Linked DNA regions of Homo sapiens: all the other regions are linked to region 2. The links are contacts of gene promoters, found by promoter capture Hi-C in blood cells and fetal thymus (Javierre and others, 2016). All regions are on one chromosome and are shown on one strand. Each heading gives the region's core, a stretch centred on a gene start or on the middle of the fragment in contact. The rest is flanking DNA. Distances are from core to core; before and after follow the strand shown. Region 1 overlaps SLC25A33 (solute carrier family 25 member 33). Region 2 holds the start of CTNNBIP1-AS1 (CTNNBIP1 antisense RNA 1). Region 3 has its middle 53 kb from the start of LINC02606. Region 4 overlaps KIF1B (kinesin family member 1B).

Region 1 (7,177 bases), core at 3,865-6,364, 270 kb before region 2:
AACATGGTGAAACCCCGTCTCTACTAAAAATACAAAAATTAGCCAGGCGTGGTGGTGGGCGCCTGTAATCCTAGCTACTTAGTAGAGTGAGGCAGGAGAATCACTTGAACCCGGGAGGTGGAGGTTGCAGTGAGCCGAGATCACACCACTGCACTTCAGCATGGGTGATAGAGTAAGACTCTGTCTGGAAAAAAAAACGAAAGCAAAACGAAAGGAGGCAGGGAGTACCCCAGGAAGGGTAGGTAGGGGCCCCAGTTCATTTTTCTTCCTAATGACCATGATAACCTCTGCATGAGTCACTTGACTCCAAGTTCGCCCAATCAATCTATTCTGCCCAAAAGAGCCTTCTAACATGCATCAGGTATAATCATTTGAACAGACCACTTGTTCAGACTCTTTTGATGAATCTGTTCCTCTCAGGGTAAATTCCTAATTCAGCAGTCCTGTAGTTTTCCAAAAATGTCATGTGCTTTTATTGCTCTGTCTCCCCACATATGCTGTCCCTCACCAGAGATTCCCCCTTCCCCTTCCTGGTCATGCTGTCACCTGTTGTGGAAGCCTTTGGTAATTCCTCCTAATTCCAAGTGTCCCATAGTAAACTCATATCACTTCTGTTTAGCAAGGGATAAATGCGTCCATCAGCTGAGAGCCTGTATATGTATTCTTGTCATTCTGCCTAATGATGGTGCTCAAGAATACTTTAGAACTTTGGGTGAGCTCTGTTAATATTTGTCTCTCAGCAGTGAATATTTGTTGCTTGCACTAGTCACTAGGGAAACAGCAGGGAATTAAGACCTAGCTTCTAGGAACTTACAGCTTCACAGATAAGATAATTAAAGTTTGGTGGGATAAGGTTGCTGAGGGTGCCACTAGACCTTCAAGAGTCACCCAGTACAGGTTGGGTTAAGAGAGAGAAGGTTGGGAGGGCCTTCAGAGGCAGCAGCACCCAACTCCCATCTTAAGAATAGCCAGGTGGGCTTTGCCGTGTCTACTGTGAAAATGAAGACCATTCACAGCAATCAGACTGTTGTCATTCCAGAAAATGTCAACATTACCCTGAAGAGATGCACAGTTACTGTGAATGGCCCCAGAGGAACCATGCAGAGGGACTTCAGTCACATCAATGTAGAACTCAGTCTAAAGAGGCTCTGGAGTGCCACACGGTGGGGTAACAGAAAGGAACTGGCTACCGTTCGAACTGTTGGTAGTTATGTGCAGAACACGATCAAGGGTGTTACACTGGGCTTCTGTTACAAGATGAGGTCTGCGTATGCTCACTTCCCCACCGACATTGTTATCCAGGAGGATGGGTCTCTTGTTGAAATCCGAAATTTCTTGGATGAAAAATACACCCGCAGGGTTCAGATGAGACCAGGTGTTGCTTGTTCAGTATCTCAAGCCTAGAAAGATGAATTTAATCCTTGAAGGAAATGACATCGAGCTTGTTTCAAATTCAGTTGCCTTGATTCAGCAAGCCACAACAGTTAAGGATATCAGGAAGTTTGGGGATGGTATCTATGTCTCTGAAAAAGGAACTGTTCAGCAGGCTGATGAATAAGATCTAAGAGTTGTCCCGCTACAGAAACAACATGCTGGATGATTCCTAAGACCTATTGGTGATATTTAAATGATGCCATAAAAGACATTGATTTGGGAAGAAAAGAATAGCCAGGTGGGGGCGGCAGAGAAGAGTCTTTTGGGCAGAGAGAAGGTGAGTGTAGAAATCTTGAGTCAAGAAAGCATGGTTAGGCTGGACTCGGTGCCTCACACCTGTAATCCCAGTACTTTGGGAGGCCGAGGTGTGCGGATCACTTGAGCTCAGGATTTCGAGACCAGCCTGGCCAACATGGTGAAACCCTGTCCTACAAAAATTAGCCGGGTGTGGTGTCATGCCTCGGGAGGCTGAGGCAGGAGAATGGCGTGAACCCGGGAGCCTGTAATCCCAGGGAGGCTGAAGCAGGAGAATTGCTTGAACCCAGAAGTTGAGGTTGCAGCTGAGATTGCACCATTGCACTCCACCCTAGGGGACAGAGTGAGTAAGACTCCATCTCAAAAAAATGAAAAAAGGAAAAAAGAAAAGAAAGCATGGTTAGTTCTGGGGAGCCGTAAGACAGGGAGTGTAGTTGGCGTGTAGTACGTGCATCTGCGCTGGAGAAGGGAGTTATGGAAGAATAAGGCTGGAGGAGCAGGGGAGCCCGATCCTTCCCAGGCCTGAAAGGGAGTTTGGAGTTGGGCTTTGAGGGCAGTGGAAAGTCATCAGAGCAGTGGTCCTCAGGGGAAATGGAGGATGGAGGTAGGGGGTGCCCTCCAGGGGACATTCAGCATTTAAGTTTGGAGACATTTGAAGTTGCCACAACTTAGGTGAGTGTTTTTGGTGCCTAGTGTGAATAGAGGCCGGGATGCTGCTAAACCCTACAAGGCACATGACAGCCTGCTTCTCCCCAAACTGAATAGTTTAGCCCCAAATGTGAATAGCGCCAAGGGTGAGAAACTCTGGATGTTTTGTTTTGTTTTGAGACAGAGTCTTACTCTGTTGTCCAGGCTGGAGTGCAGTGGTGCATCTCAGCTCACTGCGAGCTCCGCCTCCCGGGTGCACGCCATTCTCCTGCCTCAGCCTCCCGAGTAGCTGGGAAGTGCCCGCCACCATGCCCGGCTAATTTTTTGTATTTTTTAGTAGAGACGGGGTTTCACCGTGTTAGCCAGGATGGTCTCGATCTCCTGACCTCGTGATCTGCCCACCTCAGCCTCCCAAAGTGCTGGGAATACAGGTGTGAGCCACCGCACCCGGCCTCTGGATGGTTTTAAGCACGGGAGTTGCATGGTTGGATTTGTGTTAGAAAGGTCACTGCCGCTAAGGAGCGGGAACAGTCTATGCGGAGATAATAAAGAAGGGAGAGAGGCCAGCTGAGACTGAAGCCCAAGGGGCCCCAGGTCTGCGCCCGCTCGGAGGGGTCTGTGATGTGTGACCGGTGCACACCTAACTACACTCATCTGGTGGCTCACTCTTGCCTTGCAGCCAGGCAGTTCATAAATGCTTTTTGTCCTGGGGTAGGAGCCTCTAAACCTCATGGTTTTCATTTGCTGTTTTATTTTGATGTTTTATGATTTTATAAATTTAGCAATAATAGAATCTATTTGGAGACGAGTGTGATCAGAAATCTAATAAGTAGCCTCACCAACAGGTTGGAATGTTCCTATTTTTCTTTCTTATTATTTACTTTTTTGTAGAGATAGAGCCTCACTACATTGGCCAGGCTGGTCTTGAACTCCTGGCCTCAAGCAGTCCTCCCGCCTTGGCCTCCCAAAGTGCTGGGATTACAGGTGTGAGCCACTGCTCCCAGCCCTTGTGATCATCCTTTACCTTTAACTTAGTCCTGTTTTCCACTGAAAGCATTCCCTGTGTCTCACGGCCTTGTGACTTAATCTAGCAGATATACCGTGGTCAGCTATCTGGATTGTTGTCCTGATTGTTTTGCAGTTGTAGTTCCTCTGTGATGAGCCTTACTGCTCCCTGCAGCTCTTTCTAAAATTAGGTCAAATGCTAATGTTTTTATGAACATGTTTCTATGACTCTTGATACAGATGTAGCTAGTGTTCTGTGGGCCTGTCAGGTGTGCCAGCTACTTGGTCTGGCCTCACAGTGGGCTGGAGGTCAGCTGACAACAGTACAAAGATATGTGGGAAAAACTCTCCTCAAACCATGTTTTTCCTCCACTGTCACACCACAACAGTCATTGACACAGAAGATGACTTCTGTGACCAAATGTGTAGGGGGTTTTCCCCACACACACCAAACAGCGGACACCAGCTGGGTGTCCTCTCATTCACTTCCGACACTGTCTACCAGGAGACAGCCCCACAGATTGGGGGCTCAGTCCCCAGGACTGCCCACCCCCCGCCCACCCACTTACCCACACACCAGTTGTATGTCTGGGCCTCCAGAGCTTCTGAACGACCAGCTTCAAGTTGGGGTTCCCATGACCCTCTCTTTGGATTCTATTAATGTGCTGGAGTGGCTCACAGAACTCAGGGAAACACTTAATGTTTACTGGTTTGTTATAGAGGACATCGCAAGGATACAGAAGAAGAGACAGGTAGGGCCAGGTACAGAGTAAGGGGCGTGGAGCTTTCATACCCTCCCCGGGGGCCACCCTCCAGGAGCCTCCATGCGATCAGCTCTGGAAGCTCCCTGAACCCTGTCCTCTTGGGTTTTTCTGGAAGCTTCATGTCAGCAGCATTCCTTCTCCCAGAGATAGGAGGGGACTCTCATGGAGTAAGACCAACAAGGTAAGGACATTAGAGGATGGCCTTGGGGCAGGTGAAAGGAGATCAAGGGACTGTCAGAGGCTGCCCCTGCGGCCTCACACACCCCACATAACGAAAGACAAGGGCTATGAGAGTTAGGAGCCAGGAAACAAGTATCCTAACACCATAAGGAAGACCCGTACCTGTTCTCCTACTGTGTGATGTCTGTGTTCCACCATGATATGTCTCCTTAACAGCCTGTGTTGGTCTCTTTTATGCAGAGTGAGGGGCTCTAAGCAGATGAATACACTCCAGTGTGCTCGTTACGTTTACCAGACCGAAGGCATTCGTGGCTTCTATAGAGGATTAACTGCCTCGTATGCTGGAATTTCCGAAACTATAATCTGCTTTGCTATTTATGAAAGTTTAAAGAAGTATCTGAAAGAAGCTCCATTAGCCTCTTCTGCAAATGGGACTGAGAAAAATTCCACAAGTTTTTTTGGACTTATGGCAGCTGCTGCTCTTTCTAAGGGCTGTGCCTCCTGCATTGCTTATCCACACGGTATGTTTTGCTTTTGTTCTTCCAGAGCAGTAAAACAGCTGTCACGTTTGTTGTTTGTGGGTATATCTAGACTTCTGAGGCGCACATTGAGGCGCAGGATCCCTGCAGGTAAGGTCAGTGAGTATGAGGGAAACAGCTCTAACCGCATGGACAGAGGTCACGTGAGTGGTGGGAACTCGACCTTACTCAAATCCAGCTGATTATAGCCAAAACTTGTTGTGCAGAAACGCAGGTCCTGGGTTGCTGAACTTTTGCTGTTTTCAAGGAAGCTAAAAATCTGGATTGTATTTAATATTCCTTGAATCAAAATGATAATATGGGAGCCAAACTTACTCAGCCTCGGCGGGGCACGGTGGCTCACGCCTGTAATCCCAGCACTTTGGGAGGCTGAGGCGGGCGGATCATGAGGTCAAGGGATTGAGACCAGCCTGGCCAACATGGTGAAACCCCGTCTCTACTAAAAATACAAAAATTAGCTGGGCGTGGTGGCGCACGCCTGTAGTCCCAGCTACTTGGGAAGCTGAGGCAGGAGAATCGCTTGAACCCGGGAGGTGGAGGTTGCAGTGAGCCGAGATCAAGCCACTGCACTCCACCCTGGCAACAGAGCGAGACTCTGTCTCAAAAAAAAAAAAATAATAATAATAATAATAATAATAATAATCATTCAGCCTCTATTTCTAATGGAGCCTTAAGGCTACTTTGGGTAAGTTTATTTTTTTGAGTTATAGAATTCTTGACCTACTGGCCTACTTATTTTAAAAAATGCTTAGTTTATTGTGCCATGAAAAACAGGTTTTATTTTCATAAGCCTTCTGTACTGTCAGCTATGGCAAATGCATACAGTCAACTCAGTAACAGGTGCTGAGTCCCCTTTGTGTCCTGGAGCACTAAGCTGACCCCAGAGGACATCTGAGGAAAGAGGTCAGTGATGCCTCCCAGGGTCTGAGGTCTGTGTGAGGGCAGGAGTGACGAATGTCCAACTCTAGGTGTCTGGGAAGGAGGCCCAGGTGGGCAAAGGCTGGCAAAGGAGAGGGTGGCTTTTGAGCTGGGCAGAGTAGAAAACGTTTCCAGGAGGAGGAGGAAACTGAAAAATATAAGAAAAGAATTCGTTGAAGGTATTGCCATACTTCATACAAATTAGCATTTGCTTAATTGGGAGTAGAAAACCATGAATTATTTTAACATTAAGTCTCATTGAAACTAAGCTTTTTTTAACCCCTTAAAAGTTATTTTGCTGTAATCCCAGCACTTTGGGAGGCCAAGATGGGCACATCACCTGAGATTAGGAGTTCGAAACCAGGCTGGCCAACATGGCGAAACCCCGTCTCTACTAAAAATACAAAAATTAGCTGGGTGTGGTGGCAGGTGCCTGTAATCCCAGCTACTCAGGAGGCTGAGGCAGGAGAATCACTTGAACCCAGAAGGCAGAGGTTGCAGTGAGCCAAGATCGTACCGACTGCACTCCAGCCTGAGTAATAGAGTGAGACTCTGCCTCAAAAAAAAAAAAAAAAAAGTTATTTTGTACTTTCGTGTATGTGTAAGTGTCCATAGTTGACCAAATCCTAGAGTTGGAAAAGGTTCTAAAAAGAACTTAATTTTTCATTGTCTCTCTAGGTTATGTGACTTTCCTGTCCAAATACAGCTGAGGTGGGAAATAGACACAGTTGTAACCTTGACAATTTTATTTTATTTATTTATTTTTTGAGACAGAGTCTTGCTTGCTCCGTGGCCCAGGCTGGAGTGTAGTGGCACGATCCCGACTCATTGCGACCTTCACCTCCCAGGTTCAAGCGATCCTCATTCCTCAGCCACTCTAGTAGTAGGCGTGCACCACCTTGCCTGGCTAATTTTTGTTTTTCAGTAGAGACGGGGTTTCACCATGTTGGCCAGGCTGGTCTCCAACTCCTGGCCTCAAGTGATCCACCCGCCTCGGCCTCCCAAAGTTCTGGGATTACAGGTGTGAGCCACCGCACCCGGCCTAACCTTGACAGTTTTAAAGTTGTGTGCTGTGGATTCGTTCCCCATTTAATATGTGGCGTAAAGTAGGTCTTTCTCTCTCTGCAGAAGTCATAAGGACGAGGCTCCGGGAAGAGGGCACCAAGTACAAGTCTTTTGTCCAGACGGCGCGCCTGGTGTTCCGGGAAGAAGGCTACCTTGCCTTTTATAGAGGACTGTTTGCCCAGCTTATCCGGCAGATCCCAAATACTGCCATTGTGTTGTCTACTTATGAGTTAATTGTGTACCTGTTAGAAGACCGTACTCAGTAACAGGCCGGAAAATTGTGCTCTAGAAGAATAAAACTGAAAAACTCTAGAGAATTTTTTTTCCCCATTGATGTTTAGAAAGTTTGAGACTGAAACAGGAAAGGCC
Region 2 (7,031 bases), core at 4,380-6,879:
ACTGCCCCATGAGCCACATCACAAGCCAAGGAGAAGTGTGCCCCTCACCACCCTGGGCAGGTGCAGGAACTCTAAGGGACCCTCCCAACCACCTCAGCCCCCTACAGGTGAGCCTGGGGCCACCCGCTCCAGCTCCCTGGCACGGATGTTCTCTTCCTGCAGGGCCCTGCACCGTTGCTGCCTATTTGCACATCAGTCCTGTCCAGCAGCCTCAGCCCCGCATCTCACTTCCCAGCCCAGCGCCCAGTAGGTCCTCAGCCAGCATTTCCTGATGGGCTCAATGCCCGGCAGGGGCCCAGCTGGCACAGGCTGGGCTGATTAACTCTCGCAGTGCCTGGAGGAGTCCTGGGAGGCAGCCAGATGGCTCAGGGCTCACCTCCAAAACCAGCCGGAGGCGCTGGGAGGAGCTGCGAGAGCTAGGAAGGAAGGTTCCAGATAGAACCCTGAGGGGCAGAGTCCGGGCTGCGCCTCCCAGGGTATGGCCTCTCTACAGTCTCAGCCCTCCTGATGGGGTGGAGGGCTGAATCGGTCGGAGAAGTCTATAGACTGCGTGGCAGGGTTCTACCCTGGGATGCAGGACCAGCCCCGGACTGACTCCCAAGGGACAAGCTGGCAGGGGCAGTCCGAGCTGGGCCTGGGAGGGTGGGCAGGGCCGCCACAGGCCTCTGGGCTGGGGGCTGGGGCTGAGCCTTGCTGAGGGAGCACAGGTACAGCCACACCATAGGCCTGGCTGGAGGGGCCACCTCAGGCCAGTGAGGCCATCAGATGCTACCTGGGGAGGCTACCTGGGCACTGCAGGGGGGGGTGGATGGGCCCCCCAACTCCGCCCCACTACTGACTCCGCCAGGTCCCTTCCCCAACTGGAAGCTCAGCCCCTCCACCAAGCCAGCCCCTTTCACACAAGGATACACAAGGATGTGCACCTACGGTAAACAAAGGGCTATTTTTATAGCCTCATTGTTTCCTCTGGCAGCTTCCTAACTCCCCAGCCAAGGTACACCTCAGTCCTCCCTCCGGGCACACTGCAGACCTCCAGCTCTGCAGGCTCTGCAGGCTCCGCCCTGCCAGGTGCTGGCAGCTCGGGACTCCACCACCCCTCAGGGGCTGCGCAGAGGAGGCCAGGGCCTAGGGTGCAGCCAGGGCCCAAGGTGAGGAGCTGTGGCCTCTTCCTGTTCTGCAGATGGAGGCCTGAGGCTGGGAAGCGGCACTGAGGGGTCACGGGGCATCACCCACTGCCATGGGGGCATCTCTCAGCTGGGCCCACCTAGACCTATGTCCTGAGTCAGCAGCCTGGCCTCTTGCCCAAAGATGTCAAGTGTTGGGGGTGGCCATGCTCTGTCCTAGGGCTAGAGTAGCCTGGGCATGGAGGCAAAAGAAAGAAAGCAGACCAGACTGTCAGTTTTAGTGTTTTGAAATTCTCTCCAGACAATACACCCCCTTATTGCCTGAACCCCAGGCAGGCTGCTCCCCCGTCCGTGTCCCCCCACCCTTGGCTCACCACTGCCGGTGCCCACCCACTGAATCCAGACAACAGCCAATGAGGCAGTTGCCATGACTGTTCCCACGTTCCAGATTAGGAAACAGGCTCGGAAACATCGAGTGATTTGCCCACGACACAGTCATTGGCAGAGTCTGGATTCGATCCCAGGTCTGCAGTTCCGGAGCTCGGAGCCCAGGCCCTGCCTCCTTGGGCAGGATGTGGGCCTCCCCCCACAGCAGCCACCCTCCCAGCCTCCCCATCTTTGGGGTGAGGGGTGCGGAGTCTTGGGGCCCTGGGGGGCTGGGAAGGCAGGAGGAGGGGCTGGCCGGGAGGGAGGGGTGCTGGGGCCCAAGATGGCTCTGTCTTCCTCCTCCTCTTCCTCCTCCTCCTATTTGCTCTGAGGCAGAGCCGGCTGCAGTGAGAAGGAGCCGCTGGCTGTGATGGGTTTTTTTTAACCACTTGATCATGATCAAGGATTTAATTTTATCCCCTTTCCTGACTGGCTGTGATTCTATTTGGAGTTTAAGCACGAGGCGAGCAGGAGGGTCCCTGGAAAACAAGACTCCCACCCCCAGGCTCTGCCGAGGTCCCTCCCTGCCTGTCCAGCCATGACAGAGTCCACCCTGAGGGGACACCCTTCTCAGCTGGCAGGTTTTGGGGAAGGCGGAGGGGCTCTGCTCCAGTGAGCCCCCGTCCCCGAGGCAAAGCGGCTCAGCAGAGGGAGAGGCTCAGGGCAGGGGCTGGGGAGCTGGAGGCAGCTCTGGCCTTGGCTTCTACAAAGGGATCATCTGGGCTCCTTCATCCTCATCAAAGAAGCATTTTCTAAGCACCTCGCAGGACCTGGGGCTGTGCTCCTCCCCACACCAAAGGCTGCTGACAAGTCCTCGCTCTGTGTGACTTTTGAGTAGAGAGGATGGGGTGGAGAGAACCCACTATGGTGACTTAACAATGACCTTATGTCCTGACCCCCCACTGGTCGCAGGTCACTCTGCTAAGCGTGTCATATGCATCATCTCATTAGTTGTCACCAACAACCTCTGGCCCTGATGCTCTTATTTTTTCCATTTTTTTCAATAAGGTTCATCATTCACCCCAAGTCACACAGCTGCCAAGTGACAGATTCAGTCCTGCCTCCAGTTGGCCTCCACAGTTCCCACTCTAAACCATGATGTCTCCCCAGCCCCCAGCTATGTGGACATAAAGATTTAGGCTGTGGGGTCAAACAGTCCTCGAAGATTTAAAGTGGAAGAGGAACTCTGGCAAAATCAGCTTAGCTTGGAGGTGAAGTGCTAGGTCCGCATGGGAGGCTTCAGACAGACCCAGGGAGCTTCGGGGCAGCCTAGGAACATACCTCGCACGTGACTGAGCATGCGCCTTCACACAGGTACCATCCAGTCAACATTAGCTGTGTTGTTAACACTGGGACACACGGCTGGGCCTGGTGGCTCACGCCTGGCCAACATGGTGAAACCCCATCTCTACTAAAAATACAAAAATTAGCTGGGTGTGGTGGTGGGTGCCTGTAATCCCAGCTACTCAGGAGGCTGAGGCAGGAGAACTGCTTGAACCGAGGAGGTGGAGGTTGCAATGAGCTGAGATCATGCCATTGCACTCCAGCCTGGGTGACAAGAGCAAGACTCTGTCTCAAAAAAAAAAAAAAAAAAAAGACCGAGACATAGGAGACACCTGTCAAAGATGTTTGTGAAGATCCACCTCCTTCCACTGGAAGCAGCATGGTCAAGACCAAGGGTCAGGCAGTGGAAACTCTCAGAGGCTCTGGGTCTGAAGTCACCTCCTCTGGGGTTGCGCAGGGCGGGGCGGGGCTCCCACAGGTGTGCAAACAGGGACGACCACCTGTTGCACACACCCCTAACCTAGGGGCTCTGGAAGAGGAGCAGGGGCAGGGTGGGTAGGGCGTGGCTCGTCCCTGCATCAAGAACGCTCATGACTTCCGTGCTGGCAGGACTGGAAGGCCCTTCTGGGAACCATCTGTGATGGGGAAGTTCCAATGTCAGGGAGAAAAGTGAAAGCAAGACACTAGTTGATATTCAAAAGGCATTTCACTGCCCTTGTCCCTTGAGAAGGACTTTCTTCAAATTAGAAAGTCCTAATAGGACTCGCCCTGCAAGTCCCCCCAAATCTCCTGAACATCAGTTGTTTCCCAGAAGATCAAGTGCTTTCAGTGGACAGTGCAGAGCGGGGAAACGTTTTCTCAGCACAGCCTCAGGTTAGTCGGTTAGTCTGGGTGCATTTTATCCTTCGGGAAATGAAAAGGGTTGGGTGGCCATGGGCAACCCAGAAGAGGGAGGGAGAGAGATAAAGACAGAGAGAGAGAGAGAGAGAAATGAACCTGCCCTGCCCAAGCAAAGGCGGCACCTGGGTGGTGTCAGGGGTCCCCTGGGGCCAGAGTTCCCCCTACCACCAATGGAAGGGATCATATTCCCTGCTAAAAAGACCCTCTTCAAAGGCTGGGGCCCGCCTGGATTCTCAGTGCTGGTATTCACCTGCAGGGACAGGGAGAAGAAGCGCTTCATTCATTCTCAACTGCCCGCCCCCCAAGGCTGGGAAACACCAAGGGCCACAGCCCTCAGCCTCCCCACCCCAGGCTCGGCCTGGCCCCCTGCTGTCTCCGGCAGCTCTGCCTCCTTCCCCGCAGGCTCAGCCTGGCCCCCTGCTGTCTCTGGCTGCAGCAGTCCCAGCGCTGCCTGTTGGGGTCATTACCCCATCCCGTACCTGGGAAGGTGACCCAGGAGGTTGCCTGCTGTGTGGGCTGACGGACCCCGAAAGACCCAAGGCTGTCCCCAGTGTTTTTCCTTTGCCTGCTGAAGTGTCCCCGACTCATTTACGTGGCCTACTTCCCATGACAGTTTAGGCAGCTTAGACAGGTTAGACAGCGCCAGGAGGACGACCCCGCTTGGCTCCGGTTTCCAAGCTCTCTGCTGGGGGCTGGGCAGGTGGGACCAGGGCCAGCCGGTCAGTCCCTTGAACTACTCAGTGGCTCAGCTTAGAAGAGCTGATTAACTACAAGGCTGACAGTGTCACTCAGAGCGCTGGGCAAGGGGTGGAATCTGCACATAATCTACCTACCACGGACCCTTGGATGTGTGTCTCTATGTAACTTCTGGTTAACACAGCAATCTCTGTCTTTCTCTCAATGACTGCAAACTCCTTTCTGGACAAGAAGTTACAGAAAGAGGCAGATCAACTTAATGTAAGGATAAGCATAGGTTACATGAACATGGTCTGGACTAACTTGTGAGGTAGTGAGCTCCCCAACTCGAGAGAGTATTCAAGCAAAGCCTGGACAAGGTCTTTTCAGAAATGTTTCAGAGGGGCTTGTGCATCTAGCTACTGCGTGGGCTGCTACAAGACCCAGTATCTCCCCCAACACAAAGACTTAATGATGTTGGTTGTGCCATTGTACTCATATTCTGTAAACTCCATAGCCTCTAGGACCCAGTGAAATTCTTTGAAAAGGAAATAGAAGCAGTGAGACTATGTAAACAGAAAAAAAAAAAAAAAGACCCAAAAATGGGATTATGAAGGGTGGAAATGAAAATTTCTAGAAAATGCTTCTGAAGCAAAAATTATTGAAGCAGAAATGATTTCAGCTTCCAAACTTGTACATACAGCTAAAAACCAATATATCTTCCACTTCTGGGATGGTGGAAGGGACAGATATTCTGTTTGGGTGTCTGTAACAAGCATTTTAAAACTGGTGCCATCACATCAGGATGTTGGGGTGCCTAGGATGGCGGGGTCCCCACATCCTTACGGAGTGCTTAGTGTCTTTTCATAGGTGTGGAAGACGAGGTTGCCTCTGAAGCTTACTGATCTCAGTTGAATCTGGAATGATGTTTAGAATCTCCAGGTCAAAAAGAAGGTTCAACCTTCTTAACGACCCTTGAGCTGGGCTGGGTAGATCTAGAAATTCTTCCAAACCCTGAGCTCAACTCAGGTCACAGACACTTATCAAACTTGGTGTTGTCCTTCCTGGCTGCGCCTCCCTGGGAAGGAGGGGCCCCCGCAGCAGCAGAGCCCACGTGATGTGGGGAAATCAGTCAGAGCGCCTGATTCCGAGGGAGAAACCAGCTCAGCTCACACACGAACCTATGAAAATTCTTTATTGTTAATTTCTTTCTCCAACAGATATATTTTTAGTTGAAATATGGAGCCACAGCAACACTTTGACTTTTCCTCTTCAGAAGATGAGACAGGCCGGGGTCATCATTGTTACAAAAGCAAGGCCTGTGATCGTGACAAGGACAGGCTGGGGCAGAGACCACACACTCAACCAGGTATCCACCAGGTGTGGGCCCTTTATAGGAGCTACAAAGAGGGGGCAGCCAGCAATGTGGCCTCGACACCTGACTCCAGGCACTCCGACCTGGAGGAGGGAGATGAAAGAACTCACCTTTCCCCAGGGGCTCAGCCAGACCTCCAGGCCCCTGAGCGGGGAGAGTGCGTGTGTGTGCACATGTGTATGAGTGTGCACACGGGTGTGCTCACTCACACAGCACATGCACACATGCGCTGCCCCTCCTGAGATGCTCTCAGGTCCCTGCCAGGGTAGGGTTGTAGCTGTGTTCCCCACAGCTGACTGTCAGCTAACCAGGGCTAGGGGTGAGTGCATGGTGGAGGACACAGGGTCTTAGCCTGATGCTCGAATCCTCCTTCTGGAACAGGCTGATGGTGCCAGAGCACAGCACGAACCACCTACCCACCATGGGGCTCTCCAGGGCTCGGTCATTTGGCTCCTGTGCACTTCATGACACTCAGGAGCCCCTACGGCCCGAGCCCCAAGCCCCGAGAAAGGGGAAAGATTTGGTTCTGAGAGGGTCCCACTGGCCCTGGGCACCTAGGGGCCTCAGCATCTACCAGCATAGGGGAGGGTGGCGGCCCCCTTCCTGAGGACTGCATCTTTCTCCAGCCGCTCTCCCCAGATCCCACACCTGCCAGTGAGCCAGGGAGATAGGAGGACCACCTCCCTCCCAGGGAAGGGGGTGGCAGGTGGAAGGACTTAGGTTTGGTGCAGGAACACTAGACCTGCCCCTCACCCCCTGCCTCCAGGACTGCCATTCTGAACTGCAATTCTGGGCCTGAGTTTGGCTTAAGGGCCAGTCTGAAGGGACTTGCTTGGTGAAGGCCCAGCCAGCTGTCCCAGTGGCATTTCATAAACAAACGATACTGTCCCTTCCAGGCTGACCTGGAGAGAGACCCTTCCAAAGGCAGTGGAGTGGAGGGCATGGGCCTCCGATGAGAGAACTCCAGAGCTGGCCGGGACCTACTGTGCTGGCAGCAGACAGGTAGGAGCCTGGCTGGGGTAGGTCAGGGGTTGGTGTTTAGCTGGAGGTCTCCTGGGCCTTGTGAGCCAAGCTGGGGCTTTTATGTGGGTTCTGGGCTCCCAGAGACCTCCGCCAGATGACCTCCAGAGTCTTTGGGGTCTCACACTGGGAGAAGCTCCTCCCCTTTCCAAGATGACCCCCAAAATGAGGCCTCAGGAAGTGGTACACAGAAGGATGGCCAAGAGGACAGAGCTGGGTAGTACGCC
Region 3 (7,287 bases), core at 2,438-4,937, 370 kb before region 2:
GTTTTAAAAGAGAGGTTATTGGCCGGGCATGGTGGCTCACGCTGTAATCCCAGCACTTTGGGAGGCCGAGGCGGGTGGATCACCTGAGGTCAGGAGTTCAAGACCAGCCTGACCAACATGGTGAAACCCCGTCTGTACTAAAAATACAAAAATTAGCCAGGCATGGTGGCATGCGCCCGTAATCCCAGCTACTCAAGAGGTTGAGGCAGGAGAATCGCTTGAACCCAGGAGGCCGAGGTTGCAGTGAGCCAAGATTGCACCACTGCACTCCAGCCTGGGTGACAAGAGCAAAAACTCCATCAAAAAAAAAGGCCAGGCTCAGTGGCTCACCCCTGTAATCCCAGCACTTTGGGAGGCCGAGGCGGGTGGATCTCGAGGTCAAGGTCAAGAGATCAAGACCATCTTGCCCAACATGCTGAAACCCCGTCTCTACTGAAAATATAAAAATTAGTCAGGCGTGGTGGCACGCACCTGTAGTCCCAGCTACTCAGGAGGCTGAGGCAGGAGAATTGCTTGAATCCGGGAGGCGGAGGTTGCAGTGAGCTGAGATCGCGCCACTGCACTCCAGCCTGCCAATAGAGCGAGACTCCGTCTCAAAAAAAAAAGAGGTTATTTTCCAAGTTTTCTCCAAAGATACAGAGTTTAAATTTATGCCAGCAGCCTTTATCCGAGCAAGCGGCCAGTTCCCATTCTGTCCCATATTTAAGGATGCAATTTCTAATACTGCAGCCATCAGTATTAGATGAGTATTCCTTCTGCTGAGGTCAACCTCTGGAGGCCCCTGCTCCCTTGCCTGCAGCGGCTCACAGGGAGACCTCTGACACCAACAGCTGGAGGAGGGGTGGAGTTCACTCCCCCCAGCCCCAGTGATCTGACTAGGTGTTTCAACACCACCCAAAGTCTATCTGACGCTCTCATAGTGACTGCATTCATGGGTTTTTGTTGTTGTTGTGTTTTTTTTGAGACGGAGTCTTGCTGTGTTGCCCAGGCTGAAGTGCAGTGGCTCAATCTCAGCTCACTGCAGCCTCTGCCTCCCTGGTTCAAGGGATTCTCCTGCCTCAGCCTCCTAAGTAGCTAGGACTACAGGTGCATGCCACCACGCCCAGCTAATTTTTGTATTTTTAGTAGAGGCGGGGTTTCATCATGTTGGCCAGGCTGATCTCAAACTTCTGACCTAAAGTGATCCTCCCACCTCAGCCTCCCAAAGTGCTGGGATTACAGGCTTGAGCTACCGTACCCGGCCCATTCGTGTTTTTCAATGTGAGAGTCCAGAGGCTGTTAGACAGGGTCATCCGCTGTCCCCCACTTCCTCACTTGATTCTAACTTGGAGATCAGCAAAGATGGTGATGTCAGGCCCCTCGCCTGACCATCACCTCTGGATGCCAGCTAAGGTGTGGACAGATGGGTGGGGCCAAGCTGGGTGACCCAGGACTGCTTGGAAACTGGCTACCAAGAGAGGACCTGAGCCAAAGGACCGAGATGCATAGTTCACCCGGACTGCAGGCAAGACCAGTTATGTTTCCTTGGGGTGGACCCGCTCCCCTGCTGGTGCAACCACGGACTTGTCAGGGAGCAAAGGTTGTTTCTCTAGAGCACTCCATGCCCCTTGGAGCTGCTGGGCTTCGGAGCCAACTATCATATTTAACTTCCCTGGACCAACTCCACTCCACACCCAGCTCCTAGAATTCTTTTTTTTTTTTTTTTTTGAGATGGAGTCTCTCTCTGTCACCCAGGCTGGAGTGCAGTGGCGCCATCTTGGCTCACTGAAACCTCTGCGTCCCAGGTTCAAGTGATTCTCTTGCCTCAGCCTCCCTAGTAGCTGGGATTACAGGCATGCACCCCCGACCCGGCTAATTTTTGTATTTTTAGTAGAGACAGGGTTTCACGATGCTGGCCAGGCTGGTCTCGACTTCAAGTGATCCACCTGCCTCAGCCTCCCAAAGTGCTGGGATTACAGGCGTGAGCCACCATGCCCAGTATTTTTTTTTTTTTTTTTGAGACAGAATCTCTCTCTATCGCTTAGGCCGTAGTGCAGTGGTGCAATCTCGGCTCACGGCAACCTCTGTCTCCCAGCTTCATGTAATTCTCCTGCCTCAGCCTCCCAAGTAGCTGGGATTACAGGCAGCAGCCACCACACCGGGCTAATTTTGTATTTTTAGTAGAGATGGAGTTTCACCATGTTGGCCAGGCTGCTCTTGAACTCCTGACCTCAGGTGATCCACCCGCCTTGGCCTCCCAAAATGGTAGGATTACAGGTGTGAGCCACCACATTCAGCTCCAGCCCTTAAAATTCTAATAACCTAGTCTCTCCTAAGACTTAGCCTAAAAGAACGAACAAGCCTCCCTTTCCACACTGTCCTGGGGGAAACCACCACTGGCTGAGTGCCAGCAGGTGCTGGCCTCTCTCCTGGGCTCAGCAGGGCAGGTCCTGGCTGGCCCAAAGCTTCGTCCTCTGGAAGCCTCCTTCACCATCCTGTCGTACAAGCACCTGCTCTTCCCTCCCTGCCACACGCTCGCTTTGGGCTCACTTGGCCAACCTCCAAGTTCCCAGCCAGACCCAGCAGCCGTGCTGGTCAACCCTGGAAACATGGACTCTGCTTTGAAATTCCTTTGGAAATTATGGTCAAAGTTTCCTTCACAGGGACTCATTTTTCCAGGAACATTTTCTACCAATTTGGGGAAGGTGGGGTGTCTCATTCGTTCATTCATTTACCCAGAGCCTACACTGAGCCAGGTGCTCTGCAAGGTAATGGACGGGGCACAGATATTTCAGGCAGTGCCCACCCTGGACCCTATAACAAAACGGCCAGGTGCTAGAAGAGCAAATTCATAAAGTGCTCTGGGAACAGAGAGAAGGAGAGAGCCAGGGTCCCTCTGAGGACCTCCCTCTGTTTATTTATGTCACAAAAACGCGTAGGAACATTCTGTGCCACCATTGTTTTGCAGTGTGCAAATCTGTGCAAACCTGCCCCCAAAGTCCAAGGGAGCTGAGAGGTGGAACAAAGAGGCTGATATATCATTTCTCAGAAAGGAACTTTTTTTCTCTGTCTTCGAGACAGAGTCTCGCTGTCACCCATGCTGGAGTGCAGTGGCGCGATCTTAACTCACTGCAACTTCCCCCTCCCGAGTTCAAGTGATTCTCTTGCCTCAGCCTTCCAAGTAGCTGGGATTACAGGCACCTGCCACCACACCTGGCTAATTTTTGTATATTTAATAGAGATGGGGTCTCACCATGTTGGCCAAGCTGGTCCCAAACTCCTGACCTCAAATGATCTACCTGCCTCGGCTTTCCAAAGTGCTGGGATTACAGGCATGAGCCACCGTACCCAGCTTCGGAAGGGAAATTTAATAGGGACTTAGGAACAGAAGCCATCATTTCAGGCGGCTGCAAGGCAAGATGATGGATCCCTACGCCATTCCCTCCCAGACCCAGGGCTTATACACCAATAGGGAAGCAATATATAAGACAATTGTAGAGAAAGGTAAGCATGCCAAGTGAATCTGCCTAAGGGCAGGGCTTATGGTCTAGGTTGTTCTGGGACTGGGTGTGGTGGCCCATACCTGTAATCCCAGCACTTTGGGAGGCTGAGGTGGGAAGATCATTTGAGACTAGGAGTTCAAGACCAGCCTGGGCAATATAGTGAGACCCTGTCTCTATTTATATTTTTTTAATATATTTTTTCAAAAGGTTATTTTGACCTAAAGGCAGGATTTACCGAAAGTACATGTTCTTACGCAAGAGCAGTAGACAAAATAAAAATCTCAGAGGCGTTCCTGGAACTGGTGATAATCAGAAGTCAACACAGCGGGTTAGTGTCCTAGACAGGTCTGCTTCGGCCTGCACACAGGCATTGTTCTAAGTATGTTCCAGATGCTAAGTCGCTTAATTCTCATAAAGGCTTTACGAGGCAGGCACTAGTATTACCACATTTTATAGATACAAGGGCACAGAGAGGTTAAGCAGCCTGCCCGGGTCACACTGCTGCTAAGTGGCAGAGCGACATTTGTACCCCAGCACTCAGGCTCCAGGCCCTGCTGTTAGCCACCGACAAGGCTGCCTCTGCTGATGGAGGGGCTCTCCAGCTGAGCAAGGGTGGCCAAGCCTGAGCCAGCTGCTGGGACACTCGGGAAGTGACACAGGCATATCTTCACACCAAGGAGCACACTGGGAGCACCCTGCTCAGCCAAGCAACCCTGAAGTCAGAGGCCGGCCGAGCCAAGGGGCTCCAAAGGGAGCTATGAACTCCCGGGCTGGACCGCTCTGTCTTTGTTCACAGCCTTCAAGGGAGAGCTCCAAGGACCATGTGAGTCCCTGCAGGGGAGCCATGGGAGGTGGCCTCCCCTCCCCAGAAAACAAGGTTTGGTGCCTGCCCTTGAGTGAACAGTTCGTCCCTGAAGGAAAAACAAAACAATAACATTCAGCTCTGGGTAAAAGATGTTCCCACTGCTACTCCACCAGGGAGAGAGAGTGCACTCATGAGAAGGGCTCGCTTTTGTAGGAGCAGGTACATCTTTTTCCTGGCCTGGAGCCCGTTACAACCACGTCATAAACGCCATGCCAGAGAGGGTGCCCTGCACTGGCCCCACACGGCCCACGTCACCTCTCCCAGAGGGCTGGAGAGCGAGCAGCGACATGGGAGGCTCCGGCAGGTCCTGGCCTTAAGGGTCACCGGCTCCCTGTGACAGCTGACTCCACTCCTGGGAAGAGGAACAGGAGAAATCCTAGAACCAGGAGCCGATCCCATCCACGTGGTCTCTGCCCTCAGAAAGAGGCAATGCTGGAGAGAGGCATCCCCCTCCAGGATGGAAACCACAAGAGCCCCAATTTCTGTCTGTCCTGTTTGCCACTGGGTGTCTAAAATACCACTGGGTGTCTAAAATACCATGTCACAAAGCCTCCACAATTTTTCTCTAAAGGATTCGATGTGAGAAGCTTAGGCTTTGCAGTTCACCAGTCTCAGTGCAAATCCTCCACTCTGCCATTGGAGAGCACACACTGCCTATAGCTTCTGAACAGATGAAGCCTTGTCCCAATCAAACCTTATATATGGACACTGAAATTGGATTTTCTTTTTTCTTTTCTTTGAGACAGAGTCTCACTCTGTCATCCAGGCTAGAGAGCAGTGGCATGATCTCAGCTCACTGCGATCTCCGCCTCCCAGATTCAAACAATTCTCTTTCTCCTGCCTCAGCCCCCTGCGTAGCTGGAATTACAAGCACCCACCACCATGTCCAGCTAATTTTTGTATCTTTAGTGGAGACGAGTTTTCACCATGTTGGCCAGGCTGGTCTCGAACTCCTGACCTCAAGTGATCTGCCCACCTTGGCATTCCAAAATGCTGGGATTACAGGTGTAAGCCACCAAACCTGGCCTGAAATTTGATTTTCATATCATTGTCAGATGTCATGAACTACTACTCCTCTTTTTTTTTTTTTTTTTTTTTTGAGATGGAGTCTTGCTCTGTTGCCCAAGCTGTAGTGGTGTGATCTCGCCTCATTACAACCTCCGCCTCCTGGGTTCAAGCGATTCTCCTGCCTCAGCCTCCCGAGTAGCTGGGATTACAGGCATGTGCCACCACACCCAGCTAATTTTTGTATTTTTAGTAGAGATGGGGTTTTGCCATGTTGGCCAGGCTGGTATCAAACTCCTGACCTCAGGTGATCTGTCTGCCATGGCGTCCCAAAGTGCTGGGATTACAGGCAGGAGCCACTGCGCCCAGCCATGAACTATTGTTCTTCTTTTGATTTATTTTCCCAACCATTAAGAAAAGTATAAATTTGGCCGAGCGCAGTGGCTTAACCTGTAATCCCAGCACTTTGGGAGGCTGAGGCTAGAGGGTTGCTTGAGCTCAAGAATTCAAGACCAGCCTGGCCAACATGGCAAAACCCCATCTCTACTAAAAATACAAAAATTTAGCCCAGCATGGTGGTGTGCGCCTATAGTCCCAGCTACTCAGGAGGCTGAGGCAGGAGGATCACTGGAGCCCAAGAAGCAGAGGTTGCAGTGAATCAAGATCGCGCCACTGCACTCCAGCCTGGCAACAGAGTGAGACCCTGTCTCAAAAAAAAAGTAAAAATCGTCCTTTGCTTGCAAGTTGTACAAAAACAGGCAGCAGGAGGGATTTGGCCTGCAAGCTATAGTTTGCTGACCCCTAACCCCTGATTTTGTGGCCACAGCCCCATGGGATCAAACCCAAACAGAAGGCTCCCAGTGCTCTGCCAATCAGGGATCCCCTGCCCCTCTGCATGGACCCCCATCTAACAACTGCAATTCTCAGTTTGCGCCTCTCCTGTGGGCTCTCGGGATCACCTTGCCCCTCACTTTCCAGCACTCACTTGTTTTCTGAGACTCAGTTCCCGTGTCTCAGGCTCTGGGAGCCCTCTCTGGATACCCTGTAGGGTTCTGATGCACCTCTCTTTACTGCCCAAGCCCCAGCAACTAACCCCTCAATGAACTTGTTGCCAAGTCTGATGGTGGCGGTTTGTTACTCAGCCTCCTCCAATGGCCCGGAAGCTACTGGAGGGCCAGGCGTGGGGCCCTCCAGCTCCCTCTCCCAGTGCTTGGAACGTGGTAAATGCTCTGTAAGTGCTCGTTGGGATCCTCTGTCCATCCCACTCCCTTCTCCTCTTCCTCTTCCTCCTCCTCCAAGTCTCTCAGCCTCTAAGATTGGCTGGCGCAGAGCTCAAGGCCAGAGTCTTGTTTTCTCCACCCACCTTCACATCCTAAGTGAACTCTCCCCAACTCAGGGCTCTAACGCCATCTACGTGGTGACAACTCCCAGACATATATCTCCAGCCCCAACTTTTCCCATGAACCCCAGATGATCTGGAATGTTTTCAGCCACTCTTAAGGTTGGCTTCAACTACGAATGCTGAATAGATAAAGGAGGCCATTGGCCTGAAACTGGTACACATGAGGGCAAATCAGAAGTGTTGAGGCATCATGACCCCATGGGACAGAGGAATTAGAGAAGTCAAAGAAACTGTCCCAAAAGAAACCAGTCAAATGGGGCCGGGCGCAGTGGTTCACGCCTGTAATCCCAGCACATTGGGAGGCCAAGGCAGGTGGATCACCTGAGGTCAGGAGTTCAAAACCAGCCTAGCCAACATGGTGAAACCCCATCTCTACCAAAAATACAAAAATTAGCTGGGCATGGTGGCGGGCGCCTGTAATCCCAGCTACTCAGGAGGCTGAGGCAGGAGAATCACTTGAACCCAGGAGGCAGAGGTTGCAATGAGTTGAGATCGCACCACTGCACTCCAGCGTGGGCGACAGAGTGAGACTC
Region 4 (7,265 bases), core at 2,669-5,168, 430 kb after region 2:
AGGTTTCATTACTTTAGTCTGGAACTCTCTACCCTTCTTCCATGAAAGACACTTGATGTAATGGAATAAACACTATACAGTCTCATAAGTTGGGTTTAAGTCCTCTCGCTGTTATTTCCATTGTGATCTTGGGCAAATCACTTAAATTCATCTGAGCCTTTTTCTTCATCTTTAATAGGTACTATAAAGCTTTATACAAATGTATTATTATCAAGGCTCATAAAATGTAAACACTCAGGATATTTGATTTAGAGATAATAGTATGTTACTTATGAGAAGTAGAACATATGAGAAATGACAAGAACAAATTTTCTTTTTGGATCTAGATATGCAGATCGTGCAAAACAAATTAAATGCAATGCTGTTATCAATGAGGACCCCAATGCCAAACTGGTTCGTGAATTAAAGGAGGAGGTGACACGGCTGAAGGACCTTCTTCGTGCTCAGGGCCTGGGAGATATTATTGATAGTAAGTGAATTAAGGATCGTTACAAAATCTAATCCTTTCTTCTTCAGGGTTCTTATTCAGCGTTCTTATATTTAAAATAAACTTCAAGTTAAGGAGCATGATGAAGCTAAATGGTAGTGAAAATGTTTTGTTTTGTTTTGTTTTCTTTTTCCTTAAAAAACCCAATGGAAATGATCTCTAGATTCCTTTATGTAATGTGTACCAGACTATCCATTTGAACTCAGGAAATTAGTTTTAAATCGCAAATATGTCACTAGTATTTTTGTTAGAATTCTGTTTTAGATCAGCAATGAAGTTTATTTGGAACGTTAAACCTGTTATCACTGAGCAATTAATTACTTCATAGAAATGTTATTTGAAATTTTGAGTTTTGTTTCATGGGTTGCTCTGGATTAGTGTCGTGGCAGTAATATAAGAAACGCACCATTCAAGCCTACCTTCAGATAAGATTCACCTTTGAATGGCCCCCTCCTCCTGTAAAATGCTGGAGTGCCCCGTGCTGCCTATGAACATATGAAGGGGAAAAGTTCAATTCCTATGAAGTTCAAGAACTACACTTCCAGAGAGTATTGTTTTACAATGTTGTATTAAAATTTATCTTAAAAAATCTCCGTGATGTGCCTATCCAGTGGCTTATTCAGAAGTTCTCTTAAGTGAGTAAAATGGATTCATATAGGAATAGAATATGGTAGAATATGGGTTAGTTTAGTAAAGCATTTTTTTTTAGTGTAAAGTTAAACTTATATTCCTTGAAGTTCTAATAAGATTTTCAAGGCCTCTTCTAGTTTAATTCTTCTTATTGATTAGAGTCCGAGTTTAGATGAATACCGTTTGTAAAAATGATACCGTATTCTAAGTATTAACTTTTCCATCTCCCCAAATGCCAAAAACTGCTCTGTTCCCTCTCTGTGTCACTGCTGAACCTGAACTTTGACCCTTCTCGTATTTTCCCTCCTGCTTACCTTCAGTTGATCCATTGATCGATGATTACTCTGGAAGTGGAAGCAAATGTGTGTATTTCACATATTGGTTATTTCCAGTACTCTGACTTGCTAATCTGCCTCTGCTGGATCAGCCTTAAAATAAGCTTTGCATGCTGGCAATCCTTACAGGGAAATCCCAGACAGAGCATAGTATAGAATCAGAAATGATCCTATTTTTGCCCTTCTTCATTTAGCAAACTAATCTTTGCTGAATTTCAGTTTGTGGCTTGAGTGAAGTTGAAAGGCTTAAGAATCTCTTGCTGCTTCTACTCTTCAGTTTTTCCCATTGTGATTCAATTAAATCCAAAAATCATAGATGATAGCAACTGACACTTACTGATTTTGCATAATATGCCAGGCCCTATTCTAGGCACCTTGAATATATTGTCCCTTTTAATTCTGTTAATGGCTCTGAAAATATTTTATTATGTTCCTTTTACCAATAATCATTTTTAGTCAGCAAAACTATCTATGATTTAAGAGCTCTGTAGATGTTGGGCTAAGACTCATGAGTGCTTGTGCTAAGTTGCTTTTCTCCATAACTTGGGCCTCGGAATGATTAGATAAACGTTTTTTCCTTTTTTTTTTTTTTTTTTTTTTTTTTTAGACAGTCTCACTCTTGTCACCCAAGCTGGAGTGTAATGACATGATCGTGGCCCACTGTAACCTTGAACTCTTGGGCTCAAGTGATCTTTCCAGCTCAGCCTCCTGAGTATCTGAGACTACAGTTGTTCGCTGCCACACCTGGCTAATTTTTTAATTTTTTATTTGTAGAGGTGAGGGGTCTCGCTGTGTTTCCCAGGCTGGTCTGGAACCCCTGACCTCAAGCAGTCCTCCTGCCTCGGCCTTCCAAAGTGCTAGGATTATAGATGTCAGCCACCACACCCAACCATTCCTCTTTTCATAAGTCACAAATTAAAATAACTTAGGTGTCTAAAATGACTCAAACATTTTTAAAGAGTCACATGAACCTCATTATTCTCTCCACATATATCTTAAGTTGGTGAGGAAATTATTTCTTACCCTTTTAAGGTAATTCATCAAGAAATTGTTATCTTAGAAGAAAAATGTCTTGATTTTGGGGCTAATTTTTAGATTTGTACTGAGTTATTTCTTTTTTTTTCTTTTTTCTTTTCTTTTTTGAGATGGAGTCTTGCTTTGTCGCTAGGCTGGAGTTCAGTGGCGGAATCTCGGCTCACTGCAACTTCCGCTGCCTGGGTTCAAGCGATTTCTCCTGCCTCAGCCTCCCGAGTAGCTGGGACTATAGGTGCGCACCACCACGCCCAGCTTATTTTTATATTTTTAATAGAGATGGGGTTTCATCATGTTAGCCAGGATGGTCTCAATCTCTTGACCTCGTGATCCTCCTGCCTTGGCCTCCCAAAGTGCTGGCATTACAGGTGTGAGCCATCAAGCCCAGCCACCTGAGTTGCTTATTTCTACAGTAAGGCATGTAATGAGGCTTGGCAGACAGTGAGAAAATGCATAGGAGAAACCAAACATAGCCCTGGCTGTGGTTATGAGGTTAGGGCTTAAAGGCACTATAATGTCCTGATACAGAAGTGACTCTTGGACTGCAACAGCTCTGTCTGAGATTTCCAAAGCTCAACGATACTGGTGTGGAAAAGGTGCCTTCTTCTTTTTGCTTTTGTGCTCAAGGTGTTGCTGCTGCCAGCTTGTTGCCTACCTCTTTTCTTAGCAGCTGCGGCATTTCCTGAAAGACCATGCATGACTAAGTTTTAATTCTGTATTCCTGAGGGAAAGCAGCCCTGACTCCTTCTCAGTTTCCATTTTGATCTATTTCTCTTTATTCCTTTTAGGGCTTGCATGTGACCATTGGACCTAAACTCTGTCCATCCTGGTCTTTTCTCCCAATGGCTAATTTTTTGCTCTAATCCCTATCCCCCTTTTAAAAGATGCCTCTTTGCTTGTTGCCCTATGTTCTGTATTTGCAGATGGTGGTTTTCAAACTGTCTTGAAGCAACCACTGGCTTTAAGGGAGTTAAAAAACTGGCTTTAATTAAATAGTAGAGATGAGTAAGCCCAGGGAGAACTAATAGTATTTTTTTCCAGCTATGTGTATTGACTCATCTCCTTTGAGGAAAACTGACTTAGTTTTGATATGAATTTTAGTTTCTCAGGTTTAAAAATAAGCTAATTTTAAAGTTGGATTGCACCAATACTTAAGATTTACCTTTGGTATCTTTTTGCAAAGGATGACTAATGAAAGAAAGTAATGAAAGAAAGTACAAACAGCAAATTAATTAATTTTGTTGTTTGTGGCTTAATTTTTTTTTCTTTTACCAATACTGAGTGTAAAAGCAAAATTAACAGTTCTATTAAAGACTTAGTAAATGGAAGTATGTTCCTAAAACTTGCATTTTATACTAGGAAGCAGGCTTAGCAGTGACCCATGGTTGTACTGTTAGGCTAATTAAGGGCCTTAAATTAGCAAATAATCAGCCTTATTTTTTGCTTGCTCTGACAGAAGAATGGAACCTGCACTAAAACTCATTAATCTGCTAATTGTTCTTCCCTGTTGAGGCAATCAATTAGTCCTGAGTTTTTAACCAGGACTTATACAAAATTCCTCTCATTTCTATAATTACCCCTTTTTTATTTAAGACATATTAAAAATCCTTTTAGCATGTTGAAATGTTGCCATACAAAGCATACTACTCAGTGCACAAATTTTGTTTTAACTGTAACATTTTCTTGGAAATTTTTGCTGAATTACACGTAACACTGAGCCAGACCAATATGGATTATTATTGATAAATAAATGATCATTGTTTTCCCTTACTGTTACAAACTACTGGAAAAGTGTAAATCTGAAGACATTGTAGACTAGGAACACTAGAAAGACTAAATGGAAGGTAGTTTGGCTTTTTTAGGGAGAGTGCCTAAGCAGTATCCTTTGAGGCTCTGGTTTATCCCCCTGCGAGATACAGCGTTAACCTACATTGGAATCTTTTAGTTTGTAAATGCAGAAATGATTCTGAACCTGTAGGATACCACTATTAAAGACAGACATGTTTTAGAACTGCCATCTAGAACAGTTGTAACCTGTGTTTGTATTATAGCGTGTCTTGGTCTTGGCGCTTTAATGCTGTCCTTTCTTACAACGATATTCCTTCCTGTCTTTTTTTCTTCCTCTGCTTCTTTCCCTTTTCCCTACTTTTCCTGCCTTCTCTTCTTTCTATCTCCCAGATCTGAAAGATTTTCAGAACAATAAGCATAGATACTTGCTAGCCTCTGAGAATCAACGCCCTGGCCATTTTTCCACAGCATCCATGGGGTCCCTCACTTCATCCCCATCTTCCTGCTCACTCAGTAGTCAGGTGGGCTTGACGTCTGTGACCAGTATTCAAGAGAGGATCATGTCTACACCTGGAGGAGAGGAAGCTATTGAACGTTTAAAGGTAAGTAATAGTTCAGACTGAATACAAGGTATTCTATGTAGCTCCACAAGGAAGAACTAGGAGTAAAAATCACTAAGATTTCGACTCAGCATATGGAGAACTCTTTGACTCTTAGAAGTGTCCTGAAAATTGAATTTTGTGCTTTGTAAGTTAATTTCTTTTCATTAGAATGCCTGAGTCTGACATGGCCAGGCAGAGTTGGGAGAAGTGCATGGGCAGTTCATAGGCTGGCAAGGCAGAGTAACAGATTAATAGATGTGTACGTTAATTCTGGGATAGTACATCAAGTTACAGTGTAATTGTTTTGTTAGAAATTTATTTGGAAACGTGGTTTCATTGAAAGATGGAATTCTGTGTAGAGCCATGCTTCTGTTAATAAAGATGAAGTTTGGGCCGGGTGCAGTGGCTCACGCCTGTAATCCCAGCACTTTGGGAGGCCGAGGCGGGGTGGATCACGAGGTCAGGAGATCAAGACCATCCTGGCTAACACGGTGAGACCCTGTCTCTACTAAAAATACAAAAAATTAGCCGGGCGTGGTGGCGGGCACCTGTAGTCCCAGCTACTCCTGAGGCTGAGGCAGGAGAATGGCATGAACCCAGGAGGCGGAGCTTGCAGTGAGCCGAGATCGTGCCACTGCATTCCAGCCTGGGGGACACAGTGAGACTCCGTCTCAAAAAAAAAAAAAAAAAAAAAAAAAGATAAAGTTAGAACATTTGAGTAGCTGTTCCAGGTTTATTCAGATAGTTATTAAATTATATCTTCTAGAAGTTCACAGAAAGCCTTGATGCCCTATGATTACTGTACAGGAAGGTTATCTCCTCCTATGCTGGTACCCATGGGGTCACAGGGCCATAGTGCTGCATGTATGCAGATTACTGGCCTATGGCTCCCAGCTTTGCTGTTGGAGGTATTTCCCAGCCCCTTGCTGGCTCTGTCAGGTTCGATCTTATCTCTTTGTATGAATATGAAAGTTAAGAGCAGCAGAGCCTTCTGACTCATAGCTGCTTCTCTTCCTCCTCAATTAATTCAGTGCACAGACAGTTGTCACCTGCAGTGCTGAAAGCTGTTCAGGAATCCTGCCACCCATCAGATGACTGTGACAGCATCATCTGCTTTGAAGCAAATATTTTTTCTTTCCCTACTTGTCACCTCCAGGAAGATAGTTTGACCCATACCTTTTAGCCATTGTGTTCAAGAGTGCTAGGGTAGGGGACACAGGGAGGACAAAAAACACTTTTTAAGAGTCTGAGAAGTTGCAGTCATGCTGCCAGCCAGCAGTCTTCTTCACAGTCACTTGGTATTCCCCTTGACTGCCATTCATGCAAGGACGATAGAGAACAGTGACACATTGACACATTTAATAGGTAAAAGGCTTGCCGAAAAACTCTTTAACACTAAAGTGAATTAAGCTTGATAATTGAATATGTCAGATGCTTTCATTTTAATTTTCATGTGAGGCTGAAAAAGATTTTATATGAAGAAAGAGGTTCTGCTTTTTCTTTCTTAATCAGCCTACCTTTTCCCTTGACATTTTACTTACTTCAAAAGTACAGTGTGGGCCGGGCATGGTGGCTCACACCTGTAAACCCAGTACTTTGGGAGGCTGAGGCAGGAGGATCATTTTAGCTCAGGAGTTTAAGGCTGCAGTGAGCTGTGATTGTACTGCTGCACTCCAGCCTGAGTGACAGAGCAAGACTCTATCTCAAAAAAACATGCTTTAGAAACAAAAATAAGGCCGGGCACGGTAGCTCACACCTGTAATTCCAGCACTTTGGGAGGCCAAGGTGGGCGGATCATCTGAGGTCAGGAGTTCAAGACCCGCTTGGCCAACAGTGAAACCCCATCTCTACTAAAAATACAAAAAAATTAAGCCGGGCTTAGTGGCTCATGCCTGTAATCCCAGCACTTTGGGAGGCTGAGGCAGGCAGATCACTTAAGGTCAGGAGTTCAAGACCAGCCTGGCCAACATGGTGAAACCCCATCTCAACTAAAAATAAGAAAATTAGCCAAGCATGGTGGCACACGCCTGTAATCCCAGCTGCTTGGAGGGTGAGGCACAAGAATCACTTGAACTTGGGAGGCGGAGGTTGCACAGCCTGGAGATTGCGCCATTGCATTCCAGTCTGGGCGGCAGAGTGAGACTCTGTCTCAAAAAATAAATAAATAAAAATAGAAAAATTAGCCGGCCATGGTGACGTGCATCTATAGTCCCAGCCACTCGGGAAGCTGAGGCAGGAGAATCCCTTGAACCCAGGAGGCGGAGGTTACAGTGAGCTAAGATTGCGCCAATGCCCTCCAGCCTGGGCAACAGAGTGAGACTCCATCTCAAAAAAAAAACAAAAACAAAAATAATGTGCTTGTTTCTTCCTTCAGAACATGTAAGTGGAAAG

The links. The method cuts DNA at HindIII sites, captures the fragments that hold promoters and counts their contacts. A CHiCAGO score of 5 or more calls a contact.
Region 1: a contact is called between a fragment that was not itself captured here and the fragment with the promoter of CTNNBIP1-AS1 in region 2, in 2 of 17 cell types (neutrophils and non-activated CD4 T cells). The highest score is 8.0, in neutrophils.
Region 3: a contact is called between a fragment that was not itself captured here and the fragment with the promoter of CTNNBIP1-AS1 in region 2, in 1 of 17 cell types (neutrophils). The highest score is 5.2, in neutrophils.
Region 4: a contact is called between a fragment that was not itself captured here and the fragment with the promoter of CTNNBIP1-AS1 in region 2, in 1 of 17 cell types (neutrophils). The highest score is 5.3, in neutrophils.

What each region holds. Positions count from the first base shown.
Region 1 is chr1:9,575,428-9,582,604 of GRCh38, forward strand. SLC25A33 (solute carrier family 25 member 33) reads left to right here. Exons shown (of 7, transcript NM_032315.3): 6 at 4,527-4,807; 7 at 6,872-7,177. The coding sequence ends at 7,074. It also overlaps the pseudogene RPL9P11. Among named protein-coding and RNA genes, the nearest start is that of TMEM201, 9.9 kb to the right of the region's middle. The HindIII fragment of the contact is 1,791 bases long and covers 4,220-6,010 here.
Region 2 is chr1:9,842,689-9,849,719 of GRCh38, forward strand. CTNNBIP1-AS1 (CTNNBIP1 antisense RNA 1) reads left to right here and starts at 5,630. Exons shown (of 3, transcript NR_199045.1): 1 at 5,630-5,778; 2 at 6,681-6,786. CTNNBIP1 (catenin beta interacting protein 1) reads right to left here. Exons shown (of 6, transcript NM_020248.3): 6 at 5,588-7,031. RefSeq lists enhancers at 1-486, 1,028-1,567, 5,629-6,130. The HindIII fragment of the contact is 10,320 bases long and covers 5,305-7,031 here.
Region 3 is chr1:9,478,782-9,486,068 of GRCh38, forward strand. No RefSeq gene overlaps it. Among named protein-coding and RNA genes, the nearest start is that of LINC02606, 53 kb to the left of the region's middle. RefSeq lists a silencer at 4,055-4,255. The HindIII fragment of the contact is 2,490 bases long and covers 2,443-4,932 here.
Region 4 is chr1:10,277,660-10,284,924 of GRCh38, forward strand. KIF1B (kinesin family member 1B) reads left to right here. Exons shown (of 49, transcript NM_001365951.3): 13 at 327-469; 14 at 1,438-1,479; 15 at 4,663-4,874. Among named protein-coding and RNA genes, the nearest start is that of KIF1B, 71 kb to the left of the region's middle. RefSeq lists a silencer at 1,498-1,698 and an enhancer at 5,654-5,703. The HindIII fragment of the contact is 4,728 bases long and covers 1,555-6,282 here.